2 separate regions of the Homo sapiens genome follow, and region 2 is linked to region 1. Evidence: promoter capture Hi-C in 16 types of primary human blood cells and fetal thymus (Javierre and others, 2016). All regions are on one chromosome and are shown on one strand. Each heading gives the region's core, a stretch centred on a gene start or on the middle of the fragment in contact. The rest is flanking DNA. Distances are from core to core; before and after follow the strand shown.

Region 1 (4,353 bases), core at 1,554-4,053:
CAGGGACCTGGCCACGTGGGGCTGCTTCCTCAGCCCAGCTCCTGGCAGGAGAAGGAGTAGGGGCGCTGTGGGCTGGAGCCGCCAACTGACCAGTGCTGGCCCTGGAGGAGGCCCCTCCCCCACTCCCCGACTTCAGCAGGGCCTGCTGTGTGTCTGTGTCATCTTAGCCCAGGCTGAGGAGATGAATGCGTTTCCAAGCAGCCCATGGTCCTGGCGCCCGACTGGAAAAGCCTGAGCCTTCACCCTAGGTGGAGGGACCTAGCGAAGCCAGGCGGACAGAGGAAAGGCCTCGGCCCATCCTGTCCCATGACTGGGGGTTGGGGCTTCGTCTTTTTAATACCAATGGAATCCTAGCCAAGCATTCAGAACCTTGAAGCTTTAACTTCTTAAATAATAATAACTCCCACAACCTCCGGGGACCCCGGGCAGCACGTGGTAGGACCAGCTTTCAGGTTGTCCTCCTGAGACCCCAGGGCTCTGAAGGATCCTCTTCTTGGACCTCCTCCCCAACCGTGCCCAGCCACCCCAGTCATCCGAGAGGTTTGTCTCAAACCAAGTTCCTGCTTTAAAGAAAACGCTACCAGAGAAAGCACCTGTGCTCCAAACACGGGGGTGAGGGCTCACACCATGCCAGGGTCATAGCATGGGGAGGGATGCCTCCCAGCCTTCAGGGGATCTCCTCCTGTGACCCACAGCCCTCAAGAGAAGGACCAGCACAGCATCATTTTCCGACAGAGGAGGGCAGTGCAAATAACAAGTTCTGGCTAAAAAGTTACTCTGATCACCCAAGGGACATCTGTGCACTTGGAAAATACAGAAGACCACAGTCCCATCACCACCATCCCACCTTAAAAACAAACATAAACGTGGTCGCAGGCGTGACACATGGTGTGTTTCGTGTCCCTGCTTTCCTGCCTGGCAGAAGCATTGATGTAGACCCACCATACGGGTTCTTCGGGCCACTCTGGTACAGACTGTGTGGGTCATATCCCGACCCCTGGCAGCTGCATAACCTCACAGGCCGCCATCTCCTCTTTTGTCACTTGGGATGGGACAGAACTGTCACGTCCCTTAAGGGCTCACAACGGTGCCTGGCACAGAGGAGGGGCACCGCTCAATGGTGGCAGCTGGTGCCAAGCCCTGCTGTGCACGGCTTAGTCACCCCGCATCTCCTCACTTGACCCCCAGTTGTAGTCCCTGCCTGGGTTAGACGCTGGCATACACAGGCACCATGTGTCAGGCGGCCCATCCGTCTGACTGCAACTGCACGCTCGCCAGGTCCAGCAGCGCCGTACGCTCAGTTCTGGGGTCAATGGGTGCCTGTCTCCTGCCCTCCCATCACAGACAGCCTGTCCTCCTGGGGTATGGCTACCCCCTCTCTGGACATAGTCACTTCTCCCCCTACCCTGTCTCAAAGGTATGAGATCCACCGGCCCTCTGCCCGCCGAGCAGCTGGCCAAGGTCAGACAGACCCTCATGGCTCTCAGTGTACCACCTTAGAGGAGCCAGGGGCGCGTGGGAAACACAGAGTCCCTTGTTCTCTCCGAAGTGGGACCCTGACTTTAAGCAGTCGCAGCTGTTTGCAGTTCTAGATACAGGAGTTACAGCTGGAGGCTGAGCTCTCTCAACGGAGGAAGCAGCGGCATGAGGGCCTTTGCAGAAGGAGCTGACGGGGCACTGGGGTGGCAAGCCCCGTGGGCCAGGAAAGAAACCAGCTCCAGGTCAATTTGCTCGGGCTGGATTTGTTTCAGTAAAACTACTTGTAGACAAGACACAGGGCGAAGAGAAAAGCAACTGTAAACTAACTGTGAAACAAGGAAACAGAAGAGAGGCCAGAAAACCGTTTCCTAAATCTCGGCTTGGCATCTGGTGCTGGACCACAGCCGCTGCCAAACAGATGGGGGAAGCACCCTCCCTGAGCCCCAGAGCCTACACGTCGGGCCCCAGCGGCTCTAGCCATTGCCTCCTCTTTGCTTGGGTCCCCAAGTTCACTGTTAACCCCAGGGCCAGGAGCCAGCCTTGGCCCCAGACATTTGTTCTCCATTGTCCTGAGCACAACGCTGAAAAGCGGCGCTGAATAAGGATGCTGGGACGCAAAGAGGGCGCCCGGGGTCATCTGGAGCCCTGGAGGCTAAGCTCGGCAGCCTGGCGCCCCGAGTGGCTTCGAGTCCCCGCGACCGCCGCCAGGCCCGGCCACCTCCTTGCCACCTCCCTGCGTCCCGGGGAACCCACGCAGGGGGGCGCGAGGGAGGGGCTCGGGGACGGGCGGGGCCCGCACAGCCGGGCCAACCCAGCGGGGGTCGGCAGGAGACAAGGGGCGGCGAGGGCAGGGGGGCGGGGAGACTCGGGGCATGGCGGGGTGGAGGCGGGAAAGTGTCGAGGCCGGGGAATCCGCGCGTGGGGAGGTGGGCATCGCCAGGGCGACGATGAGCTTTCCTTAGGGGGCGGCGCCTGAAGCTGGCCGGGACCCGGTGGACCCCCACGACTCTCCCGGCCCTTGCCCGCGGCTCCCGGGGGGCGGGGCGGGGCGCCCCGGGCGGGGTCTGTGCGCAGGCGCGTGAGTGCGCGCTCTCGCGCACCGGCGGGCGGGGACGCCCCGTGAGGCGCCGCCGGAGGAAGCGCGCGCGCACCTCACTTCCGGCGCGCGCTGCGCCGGCGGCGATTGGACCCGAGGCGGCGAGCTGGCGCCCCGCCCAGCCAATCGGCGGCGCCGGCGCGGGTCGGAGGGCGCCGGGCGCGCGCGGGGCGGCCGGGGGCGCGCGGGGCGCGGGCGGGGCGCCGGGCGGGGCGGGGCGGAGCGGCCGCAGCTCGTCGCCGCCCGCGGGCCTGTCCGACGCCGGGGCCCGGCCCGTCCCCTCCGCCGCCCGGCAGCCATGTGACCGCGCCGCCGCCCTCCGCGCGCCCGGCCCGCCCGCCGCGCGTCCGCGGCCCGGCCGCAGCCCCAGGCCGCCGAGGGAGCGGCGGGGCCGGCGCCATGGCCGAGCGAGGCCGCCTCGGCCTCCCCGGCGCGCCCGGCGCGCTCAACACGCCCGTGCCCATGAACCTGTTCGCCACCTGGGAGGTGGACGGCTCCAGCCCCAGCTGCGTGCCCAGGTACGCGCCGCCCGCCGCGCTTTGTTCCCGCCGGGCACCTGCTGGGGGTGTCCTGGCCGCGGCCTCTGCGCGCCCCATCCCCGGCCCGGGTCCCCCAGCGGAGCCCAGGTCGCCCCCCGCGCCCCCGCCCGCCGGTTCGACGCGTGCAGCCGCCGCCCCCCCGCAGCTCCGGCAAGCGCGGCCCCAGCCCCCCAGGTCCCGAGCACCGGGGGCCGCGCTCAGCTTCCGAGGACCCGGTGCTGCTCAGACCCGGCGGGACCTTGGGGCTCCCGGGCGGCGCTCACCTGGCTCGCCGCAACCGCACCTGCACACCTGCCTCAATGCGGTGCCGGCCGGGGTGACGAGGGTGCTTCCTCTCTCGGGTACCACACGCTTCCTTTCGCGTTCGGCGACACTGTCAGACCTCGGCCTGGGAGCGACCCCCGGCGCACGGGGCGCGCAGGACTCGGTTGTATCCTCCGTCCAGCGCGCGGTGGAGATGCCCTGTCCTGCGGGGCGGGGTCGTCCTCGCGGGTACCTGGTTGGCGCTGTCTCTCATTTAGAGGCGTCGCCAAGCCAGTACTGCTATTTGCGCCTCCCAGTTGATCTTGCCATTGCGGAAGACTGGCTGTTCTGCACTTGGTAGGGGGGCGCCCGGTCGCCCAGCGGTAACGATTGGACAGGGTTTACCCTCCGGCCATAGCCCAGCCTTCCTTGGACTTGCAGCTTCCCTGAGTCTCCTGCTCAGTTTGAAACTTTTGTAATTTCTTCGTGACTTGGTAGTTCCTGCTCAGGAAGCTCCCAGGCTAAGGAGGAGAGAGACACGCTCTCCGGAAAAGTTCTGGTTCTAGAATAGACAGCAGGCGAGAAGAGGAGGCGGTTGGGGGTAGTGAGAGTTCTCCCTGGGGAGATGGGAGGGTGAGCGGACCTTCCAGGCACTGGAAGTGGCCAGTATGCCTGGAGGGGACCCCACGTGGCATTGAGTTGTTCCACCCCTAGTCAGCTGCAGGTGGGCCTCTCCGTGCTTTCCTGTGGCTCCCACAGCCTGCATCTCTGAGCGTGGTGTTGGAGTTGCAGAGCCGCTGGACAGTGGGGCTTGCCCTCCTGGAGCGCAGGGTTGGGACCTCGGGGCTTTGGTTTTGCTGAGTGGACAGGAAGGATGCCCACCCGGCACGACTCTTGCACCTGGCGGGGCCTCCCGAAGGACCCAGTGTCCATATGAGACCTAAGGGTCAGCATTTGCCCAAGGTCTGGGGCCGAGCACTGCAGATGTGCCTGCTT
Region 2 (4,687 bases), core at 1,397-3,896, 43 kb after region 1:
AGTGTCCACAGGCGCGCTCGGCCATCCCGGACACTGCAGCACATAGTCCTTGTCCACCTGCCATGGCTGTTAGCGTGGCGCGGAGCCCTCAGGGCCTGAGCTCTGGCGACTGGCTCACTCTTGATTGTGTTGGGTAAAGGATGGGCTCTGGGGACCGGCATGCCACTGGGATGAACTTGGGGGCCCGTCTGTGGGTGCCCTTCCGATCTCATGGGCAGCAGGTTGGCCTGGTCGCAGGCTGCAGGGTGGCTGGGCCGTCAGAGGCCGTGATGCTGCCTGGGGCCCCGGTGCACCCTCAGCTGCCACTCGCACTTGTGCCCACAGTATCCTCACTTCTTGAAGAGGGAAGGCAACAAGCTTCAGATCATGCTGCAGCGCAGAAAGCGCTACAAGAACAGAACCATCCTGGGCTACAAGACGCTGGCCGCGGGCTCCATCAGCATGGCTGAGGTGAGTGCTCCGTCTGGCGTGGCCTGCGTCGGGCTGGCCACCTGGGTGCCAGAGCATTCGCCCGTGGGAGATGGAGATGTCTCTCCCGGGTCCAGATGTCCAGGGATCAGGTGAAAATGATGAGAGGAGCCTGGGCGGCCGGGCTCCGCCATAAGGGCCAGGTGCGGCCCCAGGTGGTGCTTCCTCTCTGACCTTCCCTTGCCGCCTAGCATGGCTCCCCGCATGCCTGCAGCCGCGCGCACTCCCCTCTAACGAGCCTGTCCTGCCCTTCAGTGGAGGCTGGGTTTTGGGTCAGGCTGCTCTGGAGTCCTTCCCATGGAGGAATCGCTGCTGTCCCCACACCACGGGTGCGTCCTGTGATGGGTTCGTGTCTGCATCCTGCTCAGCACGTGCTCTGGCCCAGGATTGGCTGAGCAGGAGCAGGACAGGTGTCAGTTCTGTGAAGGGGCTAGCGACAATACCCGAGCAGGGCGGGGGCAGCACCCAGAGGTCAGAGGGGTGGCTGGAGTTCCCTGGAGGGGAAAGAAGGGGAAGTACCTCAAAAGGAAAAGAAACAGCCAAGCAGCAGCCCACCTTGCTCCAGAGAACCCAGCGTTCCAAGGAGGCTGCAGTAGGGCGTGGGGGCCTGGGAGAAGACACCCCAGGCTGAGGCCTCGGACTTTCTCATGGACCCTTTCGGGGCTGCAAGATTGGCTCTGGGAGAAGGGGCAGCCCAGGGCCCCAGACCAGTTTGTCTCTTTTGCTTCAGAACTTTCCCCATCGTGGGGTTGTGTTCAGGGGTCCAGGGGCTGCGGGCGTGAGTGGTGCTTGGGGCATGTGAAGCTGGGTTGCTGCCTGCCTGGGGCCTGGGAAGGTCAGCCAGCGCAGCCCCTCATTGGGAGCCGGAGATGCCAGAGCCCCCCAGCCCCTCTTCTTCCCACTTTGTCCCCCTGCTCCTGGGGCTTGGGGCTGGGACAGTGGGGGTGCCCACTTGTAGCTGGTTCCCCCACACCCCCAGGCCCAGCCTGCAGGCCTCCTGTCTCCCAGGTCAAGCGCTAGGTCCCCCAGATCCTCACACACCCCCACTTACGCATCCAGGACAAGTGCCAAGTACTACTCTGGGCTCAGCCCTCCCTGCTACCCCAGGAGATGGGAGCGTGGAGGGTACAGGAAGCAGCAGTGGCGTCCCGAGGCCTCGCTTCTCCGTGCCGCCGCAGGGCCTCAGACAAGCTTTGCAGTCTTCCCGATTCCTTCGGCAAACCACGGACAGCACGGGTGGACCGGGCCTCCAGGCTGCACTTCCCAGGGCCCTGGGACCCCTCTGGTGGCCTGGAGCTGCCCATCATCCCAGCCTCCCTCCTGCAGGCTGAGCGATGGGTGAACAGGTAGCTCAGGGATGCTCTCTGGGCTGTGAGAGCCTCCTGGGAGCCACCGCTTGCTTCCTGTGGAGCAGGAGGGTCCAGGCACTGTGGGGAGGTCATGCAGGCTCTGTTTCCCATTAGCCATGCAGGCGAGGTCCTGCTGATCCCTGCCGGTCCCTGTGTTTCCCATTAGCCATGCAGGCGAGGTCCTGCTGATCCCTGCCGGTCCCTGTGTTTCCCATTAGCCATGCAGGCGAGGTCCTGCTGATCCCTGCCGGTCCCTGTGTTTCCCATTAGCCATGCAGGCGATGTCCTGCTGATCCCTGCCGGTCCCTGTGTTTCCCATTAGCCATTCAGGCGATGTCCTGCTGATCCCTGCTGGTCCCTGTGTTTCCCATTAGCCATGCAGGCGATGTCCTGCTGATCCCTGCCGGTCCCTGTGTTTCCCATTAGCCATGCAGGCGATGTCCTGCTGATCCCTGCTGGTCCCTGTGTAGCCATGCAGGTGATGTCCTGCTGATCCCTGCCGGTCCCTGTGAGCTCCTGCCCCAGGCTGCTCCGCCCACATCTCTCAGTCTGCACCCCAGTGCCCCAGGCGGCTCCTCCCAGCCCCTCTCAGCACTGGTGCTTCTGTGTTTGACGTCCTTGCCCTGAATGCTGGCCTCTGCTCCCAGGCCCCTCCCTCACCTGTCCTCCCAGCCTTGGGCTGTCCCCTCCTGATCCCCGGGGAGAGGCTGGAGCAACCTTCCCCCACCCCAGGTCACACCAGCCACATCGTCTGCTGCTTGAAATCCCATCATCTGTTCTTCACTCTTGGCAGAAAAGCCCCACCCCTGGATGTAGTTCCAGTGCCCTGCCCCTGAGCCTGTGGCCCCCACCCCAAGGCTCCCTCGCCCTGCACCTGTGGCTTCCAAAGCCGAGGTCATCTGACTGCTCCTCGCTCTCCCCTCCAGCATCTCCTCCAGGCCCTCGGGGCATCCTTCCACCTTCCACTGGCAGCCTGGTCCCAGAACCTAGTTGGGTCCTCCCATGTGTCCCCGAGCACCAGGGCGGTTCATGGGCTCCCTGTGTCCTGCCACCTTTTGGGGCTGGTTCCCACCTGTGAGCGTTGCTGGCTTGTTGAGAGTATGAGCACGGGAGATTGCGGAGGCGGGACAGCCCCGAGGGCACAGACGGACACAGGTGGCAGAGGTGGGGGGCTCTCACCAGCTGGGCTCAGGCAGCTGTGCCATGGGGGCTTGCTGGCTCCGAGACTGCACGCCTGAGACGGGGGTGAGGGCATGGGTGCTGCCATAGGGACTGTCGTGAGAGTGGGGTGTCGGTGAGGCTGGCGCCATGCATTTGAGAGTAGTGCTCGGCGGTGGGGAAGGGTCCTTGAGGGCACAGGGTGGGGTGAGGCGGGCTGTTGGGCGGACTCGAGGCCAGGGCTGAGAGTGTGGTGGGAGAGGATGTGGGGGGCACCTGCCCAGGACCTCCAGGCTGTGGGGAGACCAGGAGGCGATGGCTGTGGGGACACAGGTGTCATCTCCCTTCAAATGGGTGCACACGCAGGGGGCAGGAGGGGCTGGGAGCAGCCTGGGCCCCTGCCACACCATAGCTCTGCCCTCACCTGGCACTCATTCTGTGTGAGCTGAGGCCCAGAGCCCTGGACTTACTCTGAGGCTGAGGAAGTGGAGTCCAAGGTGGCCCAGGGTAGGGGCCGGGCCTCATGGGTGCCAGGAGCTGGACGCCGGCGTGGGGTGGCTTAGGTCTGCAGGCTGACCAGCAGTTCTGGCTGGGACCATCAGGAGTGACCGCAGCCCCAGGGCCTGCTGGGCACGCGCCTCTGCCTGCCACTTCTCAGGAAGCTTGAGCTGACTGCAGGTGGTCCCTCTCAGAGGCAGCTCCGCAGAGGCAGGTGTGCGGTGGGGGCAGACGTGGGGCCTTCTCCTGTGGTGTGGCTCTCAGAACTCACCCCAGCACCCGTAGAGGGAGTGTGTAGGGGTGGGCGTTCGTGTGGCCAGACCACCCTGGGGCTGCAGCCTGGGAGACGCAGGCATGCCAGCTGGTGGCCATTGTCTGAGGCTGGGGCCTGTGGGCTCCCCGACAAGACAGGAAGGTTGACAGACCCATGACCAGGCGAAGGGGTGACCTGGGAGTGCGGTGGTGGCTGAGGGAGCAGCCATGCTTCTTTGCACAGCCGGACTCCTCTTGTGGCCTCGCCACAAGCTGCACATGCCACTGGGGCCAGGTCCAGCCCAAGGGGACCTGTGAGGGGCGGGCGGCTCATGGTGGGACACAGGAAGACCTCAGGGTAAGGACAGCGCGGGAGCGTCACCCTGACCGTTTGCATGCTGGATTCCCTTTAGTTTCTCTCTATGAGTGTCTGCACAGCCACAGGCTGCTGATGACAGCCCAGTCAGGTGTGGGCTGCATATCAATGGGTGGCCCCGTGAGAATATGATGGCACTGGACACTTCCTATCTCCTGATGACATGGTAGCCATCGTAACACCATAGCACAGTTACTTTATTCCTGTGTGAACTCAGTGTGGCCCAGGTGTCCAGGGCCTGGTCACACACACGTCCATCCCTACACGGCGGTGCATGGCGACCTCCCAGGCCTTCGCATCCACACACACGTCCACCCCTACGCGGCGGTGCGTGGTGACCTCCCAGGCCTTCGCATTACTCACTCACCCACCAGCTTGTCCAGAGCCACCTCCAGCCCCGCAGGCTCTGCCATCGTCAGTGCCCTATTCACAGGCACCACTTAATGTCTTTTATACTTTATTTTTACTGTGCTTTTTTTTTTTTGCTTTTTATTTTTAAATTTTTTTCGTGATGTGGTTTCACTTTTATAGTGCAGTGGCGCGATCTCAGTTCACTGCAACCTCCACCTCCCGGGTTCAAGTGATT

What was found. The method cuts DNA at HindIII sites, captures the fragments that hold promoters and counts their contacts. A CHiCAGO score of 5 or more calls a contact.
Region 2: a contact is called between a fragment that was not itself captured here and the fragment with the promoter of PACS2 in region 1, in 1 of 17 cell types (endothelial precursors). The highest score is 5.2, in endothelial precursors.

The regions. Positions count from the first base shown.
Region 1 is chr14:105,311,945-105,316,297 of GRCh38, forward strand. PACS2 (phosphofurin acidic cluster sorting protein 2) reads left to right here and starts at 2,804. Exons shown (of 25, transcript NM_001100913.3): 1 at 2,804-3,093. The coding sequence starts at 2,975. It also overlaps a transcript of BRF1 not described here. RefSeq lists silencers at 165-325, 2,166-2,255, 2,356-2,885, 3,026-3,115, 3,346-3,425 and an enhancer at 3,170-3,821. The HindIII fragment of the contact is 4,816 bases long and covers 375-4,353 here.
Region 2 is chr14:105,354,728-105,359,414 of GRCh38, forward strand. It overlaps PACS2 (phosphofurin acidic cluster sorting protein 2), which reads left to right. Exons shown (of 25, transcript NM_001100913.3): 4 at 325-450. Among named protein-coding and RNA genes, the nearest start is that of TEX22, 41 kb to the right of the region's middle. The HindIII fragment of the contact is 1,978 bases long and covers 1,658-3,635 here.